2 separate regions of the Homo sapiens genome follow, and region 2 is linked to region 1. Evidence: promoter capture Hi-C in 16 types of primary human blood cells and fetal thymus (Javierre and others, 2016). All regions are on one chromosome and are shown on one strand. Each heading gives the region's core, a stretch centred on a gene start or on the middle of the fragment in contact. The rest is flanking DNA. Distances are from core to core; before and after follow the strand shown.

What was found. The method cuts DNA at HindIII sites, captures the fragments that hold promoters and counts their contacts. A CHiCAGO score of 5 or more calls a contact.
Region 2: a contact is called between a fragment that was not itself captured here and the fragment with the promoter of SLC22A14 in region 1, in 3 of 17 cell types (neutrophils, M2 macrophages and endothelial precursors). The highest score is 6.8, in neutrophils.

The regions. Positions count from the first base shown.
Region 1 is chr3:38,281,027-38,286,179 of GRCh38, reverse strand. It overlaps SLC22A14 (solute carrier family 22 member 14), which reads right to left and starts at 3,886. Exons shown (of 11, transcript NM_001320033.2): 1 at 3,841-3,886. The HindIII fragment of the contact is 3,768 bases long and covers 557-4,324 here.
Region 2 is chr3:38,100,853-38,106,309 of GRCh38, reverse strand. The region is part of intron 19 of DLEC1 (DLEC1 cilia and flagella associated protein); the gene reads right to left. LOC105377033 (a long non-coding RNA gene) reads left to right here. Exons shown (of 2, transcript XR_940727.3): 2 at 2,517-2,820. Among named protein-coding and RNA genes, the nearest start is that of ACAA1, 34 kb to the left of the region's middle. The HindIII fragment of the contact is 1,256 bases long and covers 2,660-3,915 here.

The sequences.
Region 1 (5,153 bases), core at 2,637-5,136:
ACCTTCACCCCCTGGGTTCAAGCAATTCTCCTGCCTCAGCCTCCCAAGTAGCTGGGATTACAGGCGCGCACCACCACACCCGGCTAATTTTGTATTTTTAGTAGAGACTGGGTAGGACGGGTTTTCTCCATGTTGGTCAGGCTGGTCTTAAACTCCCAACCTCAGGTGATCTGCCCACCTCGGCCTCCCACAGTGCTGGGATTACAGGTGTGAGCCATCATGTCTGGCCAAATTGAGAAGTTTGATAACACCAAGTGGTGGAGAAAACTATCTTGCATACATTCCTGGCAGAATTATTCATAGACCCACTTTGGAAAACAATTTGGCATTGTCTTATAAAGTTGAATACCTGTATACCTTATGACCCAGCAATGCTACCCCCAGGTATATACTCTAGGGAGCCATTTGTACATATGATCCAGGAAATAAGTACCAAAATGTTCATGACACTTTTCAACTGTGAAAAAAGAGCCCAAATGCACATCAATGAAAGAATGCCTAAATTGTAGTAGATTTATATAGTGGAATACAATATAGCAATGAAAATGAAGAAGCTTCAGCTCCATCCATCAACCTGTATGAGTCTCAAAAACAGGATGTTCAGTGAAAAAAGTAAGCCTCAGAAAACTGATGCTCTTTTTATAAAGTTTGGAAACAAGCAAGACTAAAGAAATAATTTCAGTATGTCATGCAATAAAACTATAGATTTTTTTTAACAGCAAGGATGAAATTCAGGAAACCATCTCTGAGGGGAGACAGAGGAATGATGTCAAGGAAGAGGTGGACTGAAATCATTAGAAATGTTCTGGTGCTTTGGGTGGGTGATGGATTCACACGTGTCTGTTTTTATTTTGAAAAAATATTGTGCCCAAGGACCCTCTCCTGAAACATCCACTCCTGCTCTTCCTGCAGGGCCCCCTCCCCTCTGCTGGAGACTGATAAAGGCAGCAGTCCCCCACTGTGGTGGGGGTATCCCCTGTTTAGTGTAGTGAACTTCTGCCTGCTACTACTTGCTCTTAGTATTTTCCACAGCCAAAACTCATCTTCACATTGATCATGTTAATGGCTACGGAATCTTTGTTAAGGTGCTGTTTACTTCATGGTAGCTACTGGGCACCAAGGCTGTTTCTCACTGCTTCCTCACTACCCCAGACAACTTTTCTGTACACATTATGGTGCAGAAGGCTGTCTTTCTTCCCTGGGCTAAGGTCCAAGAAGTAGGATTGTTTATATGGCTCTTATAACATAGGCTCGTAATGTCCTCCGGAAAGAGCAACCCATTTCAGAGTCCACAACAGTTCACGAGGTGTCCATTTCCTTACAGTCCCACCAGCAGCATTGGGTCTTATAATTTGTATTGCTTTTCGGTCATTTCGTAGTATGATGAGAACCCTTGTCTCTGTTCTTGTGATTTTTTTTTTTTAATTTTGTGGGAGGCTGATCACCCACATTGTCAGGCCAGGTGTCCTTGAAGGGGACATTCTTCCATGTATTCTCACATTTCCTACGCTCTGGTCCTTCGTCTCACGGGAACTTGCTCCCTAAGCACTGCAGAAGACACTGAGGCATATTGTAATGATTAGCGGAGGCCTCCTTTCTAAGTTCTTCCTCTCATTTCTGCCAAGATCCCTGCACATTCCCAGCATTCTGGGAAAGTTTCTTCAGAGAATTCTTTAGAGGACGGGCCTTGGCTGGGACACCAGGGGCCCTTGCCTGGCTGGGGATGGCACTGTGGTGGGCCTAGAGGGCAGGGATCTGTGGGGAGGCCGAGCTGCATTCGCCAAATCTATCCCTCTTAGGCCGGCCCTGGAGGAGTGACCCAGCCTGGCCCCCAGCCCCCATGGGGTCCTCACCTGGGCATGTCACCAAGCTGCCCCACTAGCCCTAGCCAAGGCTAGGGCCACTTTCAGAAGCCACCATGAGCCCCTCGCTCTACTATCGGACAGGGCGGACAGGGATGGAGAAGAGCTGTCTGCTTGAGGAGGAGTCCCCTTTCCCTCTTGGGCCCCTAGTTTTCTACCAGTCACACGAGGGGGATGCCTCCTTCTCAGACTGCGACTGCTGTTCCATAATCCAGGGAAGAGGTCTCCAGCTCATCGTCTACGGGACAAATCCAGCCTGCAGACACATTTCCCTTGGCTAGCCCATTTGGTGCCTCACTGTGTCTTGGAATGTGATTTAACTGCCAAAAGTTGATTTCACATAAATGCAGCATTTTCTTTTTGAAGTTTGGCCAATGGGACAGCATTCCCATCTGGCAACAATTAGCAAATCTGAGCAGGGGCCCCTCCTTTAGACTGAGAGTCTGCTCTGTTTTTTGTTATTATTGTTGTTGTTGTTGTTTGTTTGTGAGACAGAATCTCGGTCTGTCACCCAGGCTGGAATGTAGTGGTGTGATCTCGGCTTACTGCACCCTCTGCTTCCTGGGTTCAAGTGATTCTACTGGCTCAGCCTCCCGAGTAGCTGGTACTACAGGTGCAAGCCACCACGCCTGGCTAATTTTTGTATTTTTAGTAGAGATGGGGTTTCACCATGTTGGCCAGGCTGGTCTCGAACTCCTGACCTCAAGTGATCTTCCCGCCTCGGCCTCCCAAAGTGCTGGGATTACAGGCGTGAGCCACTGCACCCGGCTCCTGCTACTTCTGATGTGTGCATGCAGGAGGCCCAGCAGAGCCCAGCACCATTTCCCCATTTCACTTGTCTTTGCCTCCTGCCTGGCCCTGAGTTCGGGATCCCTTATCTCAGCAGAATTTGGAGGTGCATAAGAGGCAGGGAACACAGAGGGAGAGCATGCTTAGATGTGTGTGTGCTGGGAGGTGGGGGAGGCTGCATAAGCGCCCCCCGGAGAGATCTATGCCTAATCCTCAGAACTCGTAAATATGTTTCCTTACATGGCAAGGGGGGTTAAAGTTACAGATGAAGTTAAGGTTACTACTTAGCTGACTTTAAAATAGATTATCCTGGATTGTCAGGTAGGTCCCATTAATCCCAGGATCCTTAAATGCATAAGACCCAAAGAAATGCAGCGTGATAAAGATTTGGGCAGCCGTCGGTGGCTTTGAAGATGCAAGGGGTCCCAGAGCCAAGGAATGCAGGAGGCTCTAGAAGCTGGAAAAGGCAAGGAAGGAAATGAGCTCTGCCCTAGAGCCTCCAGAAAGGAAGGCAATCCTTCTGAGACCTTGATCTTAGCCTGCTGAGGCCCATTTGTTCTTCTGACCTCCAAAACCATAAGGTAATAAGTCTCTGCTGTTTCAAGCCACTAAGTGTGGGCATTTGTTATAGCAGCAATAGGAAACCAATACAGGATGTATGTGTGTAAGGCTGGAGAGGGTGGAGGTGGATAAAGGAGACTTTCCAGGGAGGGAGAGCCTCCGCTGTCCTCTCAGAGATGTGGCTTCTGGACCAGAGCCATCTGTACCAGCCTCCCTCTGCAGGGACCGCTTCAGCATCCCCCAGCACCACCTGATACCCCAATACCCTGGAGCACTCACTCCCTCTACTCATCCCAAAGGTCCTCTGCCAGGTGGACAGGCCCCAGGCAATTGGCTCTCAATGTGCCAAAGAGGTAACTGAGGCCTGGGAGAAGCATAGCCAGGAGGAGCACTCCACCTGCCGCAGGAGATGGCCAGACGCCACACCTGAGAACTCACGCTTTCTGGGAGGGCAGCCCGCTCCTTCCACAGATTCCCCACAGCCAAACAGGCCCAGGCAGGCTCCTGTCCACACCTGTGCTGAGAACGCGGCCGCAAAATTGCCAGGGGTCATCATAATTTCTACTCTCCACACCCTCCCGGCCCTGCCTCCCTGTAGGCAGGACCGCAAGCCAAAGCCAGGGCCCACCTGACCACAATCCAGGCCCAGCCAGACCCTTGGAAGCAGAACCTTTGAGCTCCACTGGTGTCCAGGAAGTAGTGTCACAATGGGGTGGGGAGGTCCTTGGGGTGAGCTGGGAATGGTGAGGGTCAGCATTCTACTCCAGGGACACAACTGGCTGTAGCCTCCAGGGGCAAGGCAGGTCAGGAAAACTGCCACACGAACCCCCCTGCCCCTGTCTTTGTGCAGGCTGTTTCCTCCACACGAGGGCTCCACCTCCACTCTCGGAAATTCTCCTGTCCTTCCAGATATCACTCATTTATCAACTATCCTTCAAGCCTTCCTGAGCCCACAGCTGGAAATGGCTTGGCCCTACCCCACTCACTTCTGCTCTGTCTCTCCGTGACACTCCCCTGCCAACCAGCCTTGGTCAGAGCTGCCGGGGTCTGACCCATCTCCCCCATAAGCTAGAAGCCTCCTCTGCCAGATTGCAGGAACAGGGCTTCAAGCTTCATGCTTGGGGGAAGGGAGGCCAAAGTGGCAGGACAGGAAAACCAGCACAGGGCCTAGTACAAGGCAGACCATCCTTGTACCAGTACAGCATGTACTTAGGACCTCAACAAAATTAGAGCATTGCTATGGCTTAATATTTGTCCTCTCCAAAACTCATGTTGAAACTTCATCTCCAGTGTGGTAGCGTGATGGGGCCTTTAAGATGTAATTGGGTCATGAGTGTAATCTGTTAATCCATGAATCACCAATCATGGATTAGTAGATTAATGGGTTAATGAGTTATGAGAATGGGACTGGTGACTTTATAACAAGAGGAAGAAAGACAAGCTAGCTTGCTCGGTTCCCTCACCTGTGCCCCCTTGGGAGACTGCAGAGTTCCCAACAGCAAGAAGGCCCTTACCAGATGTATTCCCTAAACCTTGGACTTCCCAGCCTCCAGAACTGTAAGAAATAAATTTCTTTTCTTTATAAATAACTCAGTTTCAAGCAGTCTGTTATAAGCAACAGAAAATGGACTAACACAGACACTTAAGACACAAAAAAAAATTAAAAGAATTTCATATATTTGAAAAAAAATGAAGTATTGATCACAGGGAAACCTACTTACAGCTCTTTTGCAGTTTCCTATGGCTCAATCTTCACTTGTTTGGGGGCAGGGCACTGCAATCTTATTGGTATCTGGGGCATCAGATCCTTCCTCTTTCACCAGACCTCCCTCGGGGTGTCTGCAGGTCACCTCAGTGGTTGGTCCTAGGCCCCTCATCCCCCCTAGAGTTCCCCACTCTTGAGCAGCAGCACTCTGGGGGTCAAAGGGACCAAGCAGACAG
Region 2 (5,457 bases), core at 2,038-4,537, 180 kb after region 1:
TCTTTGTAATAAATGTCTTAATAGGTTATTAAGAAATAAATATTAAGCCTTGACTGATATAACCATATCAAGATAAATTCATATGTAAATACAAAGACAGAATAAATGTATTTTTGCTTACTTTTCTATCTGATTTAAAGGGCAACTATACAAACCAATAACTGTAAAACTGTCTTGATAAACCTATAATGTATAAATATGTAATTTGTATGACAATAATAGTACAAAGGAAGGGGAGAGAATAGAGCTGAGCTATATTACAGTAACATTTCAGACTACTGAAATTAAGTTGGTGTTAATCTAAACCAGACTGTTTTGAAATTAAGATATACTATAAAGCCCTGGACAACCAGTAAGAAAATAACTTTTTAAAAAGTAAAAGAAACATGGAAATTAAAATGGCATACTAGAAACTACCTATCTAACAAAGAAGAAGGCAATAATGGAGGAATGCAGGAAACACAAGGAATGCAGGAAACACAAAATACATACAGAAAACAAATAGCAAAACGGGAGATGAAGTTCTACTTTATCAGTATTTACATTAAATATAAAGGGATTAAACAATCCAATCAAAAGGCAGAGATTAGCAAAATGGATTTTAAAAAAATGATCCAAGTATATGCTGTTTACAAGAGACACTTTAGATTCAAAGACACAAATAGTTTCAAAGAAAAAGGATGGAAAAATATATATCATGCAAACAGTACCCAAAAGAGAGCTCCAGGAGATATATGAATGTTAGATAAAATAGGCTTTAAGACAAAAATGGTTATTAGAGACAATGAAGGATATTTTATAATTATAAAAAGATAAATTAGAAAGATATAACAATTATAAACATGTATGTATCTAACAACAGCACCACAAAATACATGAAGCAAAAACTGACAGAATTGAAGGAGAGATCAGCAATTCAACAATAATGGTTGGAGACTTCAACAGCCCATTTTTAATAATGGAAAAACAACTAACCAGAAGATAAACATTGAAATAGAAGATTTAAACAGCACTATAAACCAAACAGAACAGGCAACACTCTACACAATAACAGCAGAATACATTATTTTTCTCGAGTGCACAAGGAATATTCTCCAGAATAGCCCATAAAACAAGTCTCAATAAGTTTTAAACGACTATAATTATATAAAGTGGGTTCTCCAACAACAATAGAATCAAATTAGAAATCAACAACAGAAAGAAATTTGTGAAACAAAATATGTGCAAATTAAATAACACATTCATAAACAAGTCAAATAAGAAACCACAAGAAAAATTAGAAAATACTTTTATATCAATGAAAATGAAAACATGATATATGAAAAGTTATAGGATGCAACTAAGGGAGTGGTTAGAGGAAAATTTATATTTGTAAATACAATTTTCTTTAAACAAACAAAAAAGAAAGATTGCAAATCAAAAACCTCAGCTTTTACCTTAAGAAACTAGAAAGAGAAGAGCAAACTAAACCCAAAGCAAGTGGAAGGACAGAAATAATAAAGACTAGAAAGCAGAGATAAATGAAATAGAAAATAGAAAAACATTACAGAAAATCAACAAAAGCAAAAGCTGGTTCTTTGAAAATATCACCAACATTGATAAACCTTTAGCTAGACTAGACTGACCAAGAAAAATTTGCTGAAGATTCAAATTAGAGAAATCAGGAATGAAAGTGGGGACATCACTACTGATCATACAGAAATAAAAATAATTATCAGAGAATACCACTAACAACTATGTACCAACAAATTACATCACAGATAAAATGGACAAATTCCTAAATTCCTAGAGTGATGCAAACTACCAAAACTGAGAAAAAAAAAAAAATCTTTTTTTGGGGGGATGGGGTGGGGCATACAGAGTCTTGCTCTGTTGCCCAGGCTGGAGTGCAGTGGCACAATCTCGGCTCACTGCAGCCTCTGCCTCCCACGTTCAAGCTATTCTCATGCCTCAGCCTCCCGAGTAGCTGGGATTACAGGTGTGCACCACCACACCCGGCTAATTTTTGTATTTTTAGTAGAAATGGGGTTTCACCATGTTGGCTAGCCTGGTCTCGTACTCCTGACCTTAGGTGATCCGTCCACCTCAGCCTCCCAAAGTGCTGGGATTACAGTCATGAGCCACTGTGCCTGGCCAAGAAAAAAGTCTAAATTGACCTATATAAGAAATTCAGTTACAAACATACCTCATGTTATTATGCTCTGCTTTATTGTACTTCACAGATACTGTGATTTTTACAAATCGAAGGTTTGTGACAACGCTGCATTGAGCAAGCCTATCAATGTCATTTTTCCAATTGCATGTCCTCATTTCATGTCTCTGTGTCATGTCTTGCAAACTTTTTTGCTATAGCTGTTATGGTAACCTGTGATTAGTGATCTTTGATGTTACTACTGTAATTGTTTTGGGGTGCCATAAACAGCAATCATATACGATAATGGGCTCAACTGGTAAATGCTGTGTGCATTTTGACTGCTCTACTTACTGGTCATTTCCGTCTCTCTCCCTCTCCTCAGGCCTCCCTATTCCTTGAGACACAACAATATTGAAATTAGACCAACTGATAACCCTACAATAGCCTCTAAGTCTTCAAGTGAAAAGAAGAGTCGTACGTATCTCACTTTAAATCAAAATGATTAAGCTAAAAAATGATTAAGCTTAGTGAGGAAGGCACATTCAAAGCTGACACAGGCAGAAAGCTAGCTTTGTGCCAAACAGACAAATTGTGAATGCAAAGAAATGTAATATCTAGCAAATGCCCTATTTGTGAAAATTTTGAAGTAAAAGATAATAAAGCAAATAAAATGTTATGCAAACAAGGAAAAGAAAATAGGAGAAAGAAATAATGTGATCAGGTTAACTGATAAAACAGAGGAGAACAAAACTGCTGCTTGAAATCCCTGCACAGGTTACGTGCAATGCAATCCTTAATGATGGAATGAGGGCATCAAAGGGCGGGGGAGCTGAGCAAAGCACTGCTGAAGATCCATTGGCTTAGCCAGGTCAGGGCTCCAGCCCCAGAGCTCAGAGCAACACATGGAAGAGTGGGCTGCCCCAGGCACAGAAGTCAAATATCACATGATCTCACTCAAGTGGGTGCTAAAAACGTGTACATATGGACATAGAGATTGGAATGATAGACAACGGAGACTCGGAAGGGTGAGGGCATAGGAGGGAAATGGGTGATGAGAAATTAGTTCATGAGTACAATGTATGCTATTTGGGTGATGGATACCCTAAAGCCCTGACTTGACCACTATATAATCTACGCACATAACACAATTGCACATGTACCCCATAAATTTGTACAAATAATAAAAATTAAAATTGAAAATTAAGAAAAAGACTGGGCTGCCACAGTATTTGCCCCCACTGAAGACTGTGGGTATCACGCTGGAGAGAGGCCAGGGCAGAGCCTGCAGTAACACTGGACCTCTCAACTGTCATGAGGAGGAAACAACCAGAAAGATGCTATTCCTTCATTCTTATTTATGAATGAAGGCACGAATTGATTTGTGTAGCTGCCCAGTATGGGTTTTCTCCACTGTTTGTTTAGGGCTGTTTTCCCCAAAGGTCCCTTTCTCTGATGGATTCAGGCTAGCTGTGTGCTCTGAGGGTGGTGACTCACATGTACTTCATCCCTTAGAATAGGGGTGCTCTCCACATCTACCCCCTTTTACTCAGAAGAAACTTACAACACCAGCTCCTTATGCAAATCAACTTCCTCCTCCATTCAAAAACAGGACTGGACAGGCAAAGATTACTAGAAGCAGAAGAAAACTCAAAAAGTAAAGAAGAACTCCAACATCTGGGAAAACAGAAATTCATTTTCTTGGGGGAATCTGAGAGGCTGTTGCATTGATAAGACTATAACAGATTACTATAGAAAAGGAAAGACGCAAGAACAACAAAGCTTGAAATTTCGAAACATGATTGCCTCTTCTGGAGACAGATCCTCCCTGTCACCCAGCAGGGGAAGGGGCGGGTACATGACCCACACAAGAGCAAGAGCAATCAGGGCCTATCTCTGCAAAGAGCCAGATTGGCTCTCAGAGATTGTTAAGGTGGGAGTGTGTGAGCCTGGAGCTCTAAGTGGCCTCTCCCCAAGGCAGAGTGCGAAGGGCCCTTGTCAATAGGGGAGAGAAGGGCCCACAAAAAAAGAGCAGTAGATGGGTTGGGGCTGGGATGGAGGTAGAGAAGGGGGAAAGAGGGTAGAGAAAGAGAGGAAGCAGAAGACCAGACAAAGGGAAAAGTGTTGGGCCCTTGGATTCAGCAAGGTGGGAATGCCCAGTTACGTGAGCCAATGCTTCCTCTTTTTTGCCTAAGTTGGTAATGTCTGTGTTTCCATCACCTGCTACTGTAAACATTCTGATAATACAAGGTCCTTTCAGGAGAAAGAACAGAGACAGAAAAGGAAAGGAAATAAGCACAGACTTAATAGAAAGCCCTTCCCCTGAGCTGCAGGCAGACTTAGCCTTCACATCTAATGCCCGCAAATTGCCCTGAAGGACCAATGCAAAGACTCATACCTAGACCTGTATTTGTTATCACAGGAGGGGACATTTGAACAACTGTCAGATGGTCAAGTATACAAAGTCCAACAACATTTGTCATGGTGAAAGTGTGGGGTAATGGCTAGTCTCACACACTGTAGGCAGAAGTATAAAATGACACAGTCTTTTTGGAGGATAATTCAAGAGCATCCACAGAGATTTAAATGAGCATTTAAATGTTTTTACAATGAAACACCAAATATATGCAAAAATGAGTATAAAACATATATACAGTTTAAACATATATATAGTTTAACGAATAATAAAACAACATCTATGTACTACCTCCACACAACTTTAGAAACAAAATATTATCACCAGCCAGCTTAAGAAAATGAATATATATATATATTCATTCACTGCAACCTCTGCCTCCAGGATTCAAGTGATTCTTCTGCCTCAGCCTCCTAAGTAGCTGGGACTACAGGCGAGCACCACCATACCTGGCTAATTTTTGTATTTTTAGTAAAGACGGGGTTTCACCATGTTGCCAGGCTGATCTCGAACTCCTGACCTCGTGATTTGCCTGCCTCGGCCTCCCAAAGTGCTGGGATTACAGGCGTGAGCCACCATGCCCAGCAGGAAAATGAATATTTTATTTGAAAATAATTTGGGAAGGAGTGGGGAGAAGGAGATAGGGGATATGGATGAAACAGTACTTGCAGTGAGTTGACAATTATTGAAGGGAGGAAAGAGTATGTGGAGGTTTATTATACTATTCTTTCTGTTTTTATATATATGAGAAGTTTTCCACTAGAAAGAAAGAAAAGGAGGGAAGTGGGGGAGCGGAGGGAGAATGAAGAAGAAAAAAAGGAATACTACCAATACCTTTGAAACCTCTAGCATGTTCCTCCCAGAATACAATGGTATGTGCTTATTTAAATATGTCACACTTTTTAAATGT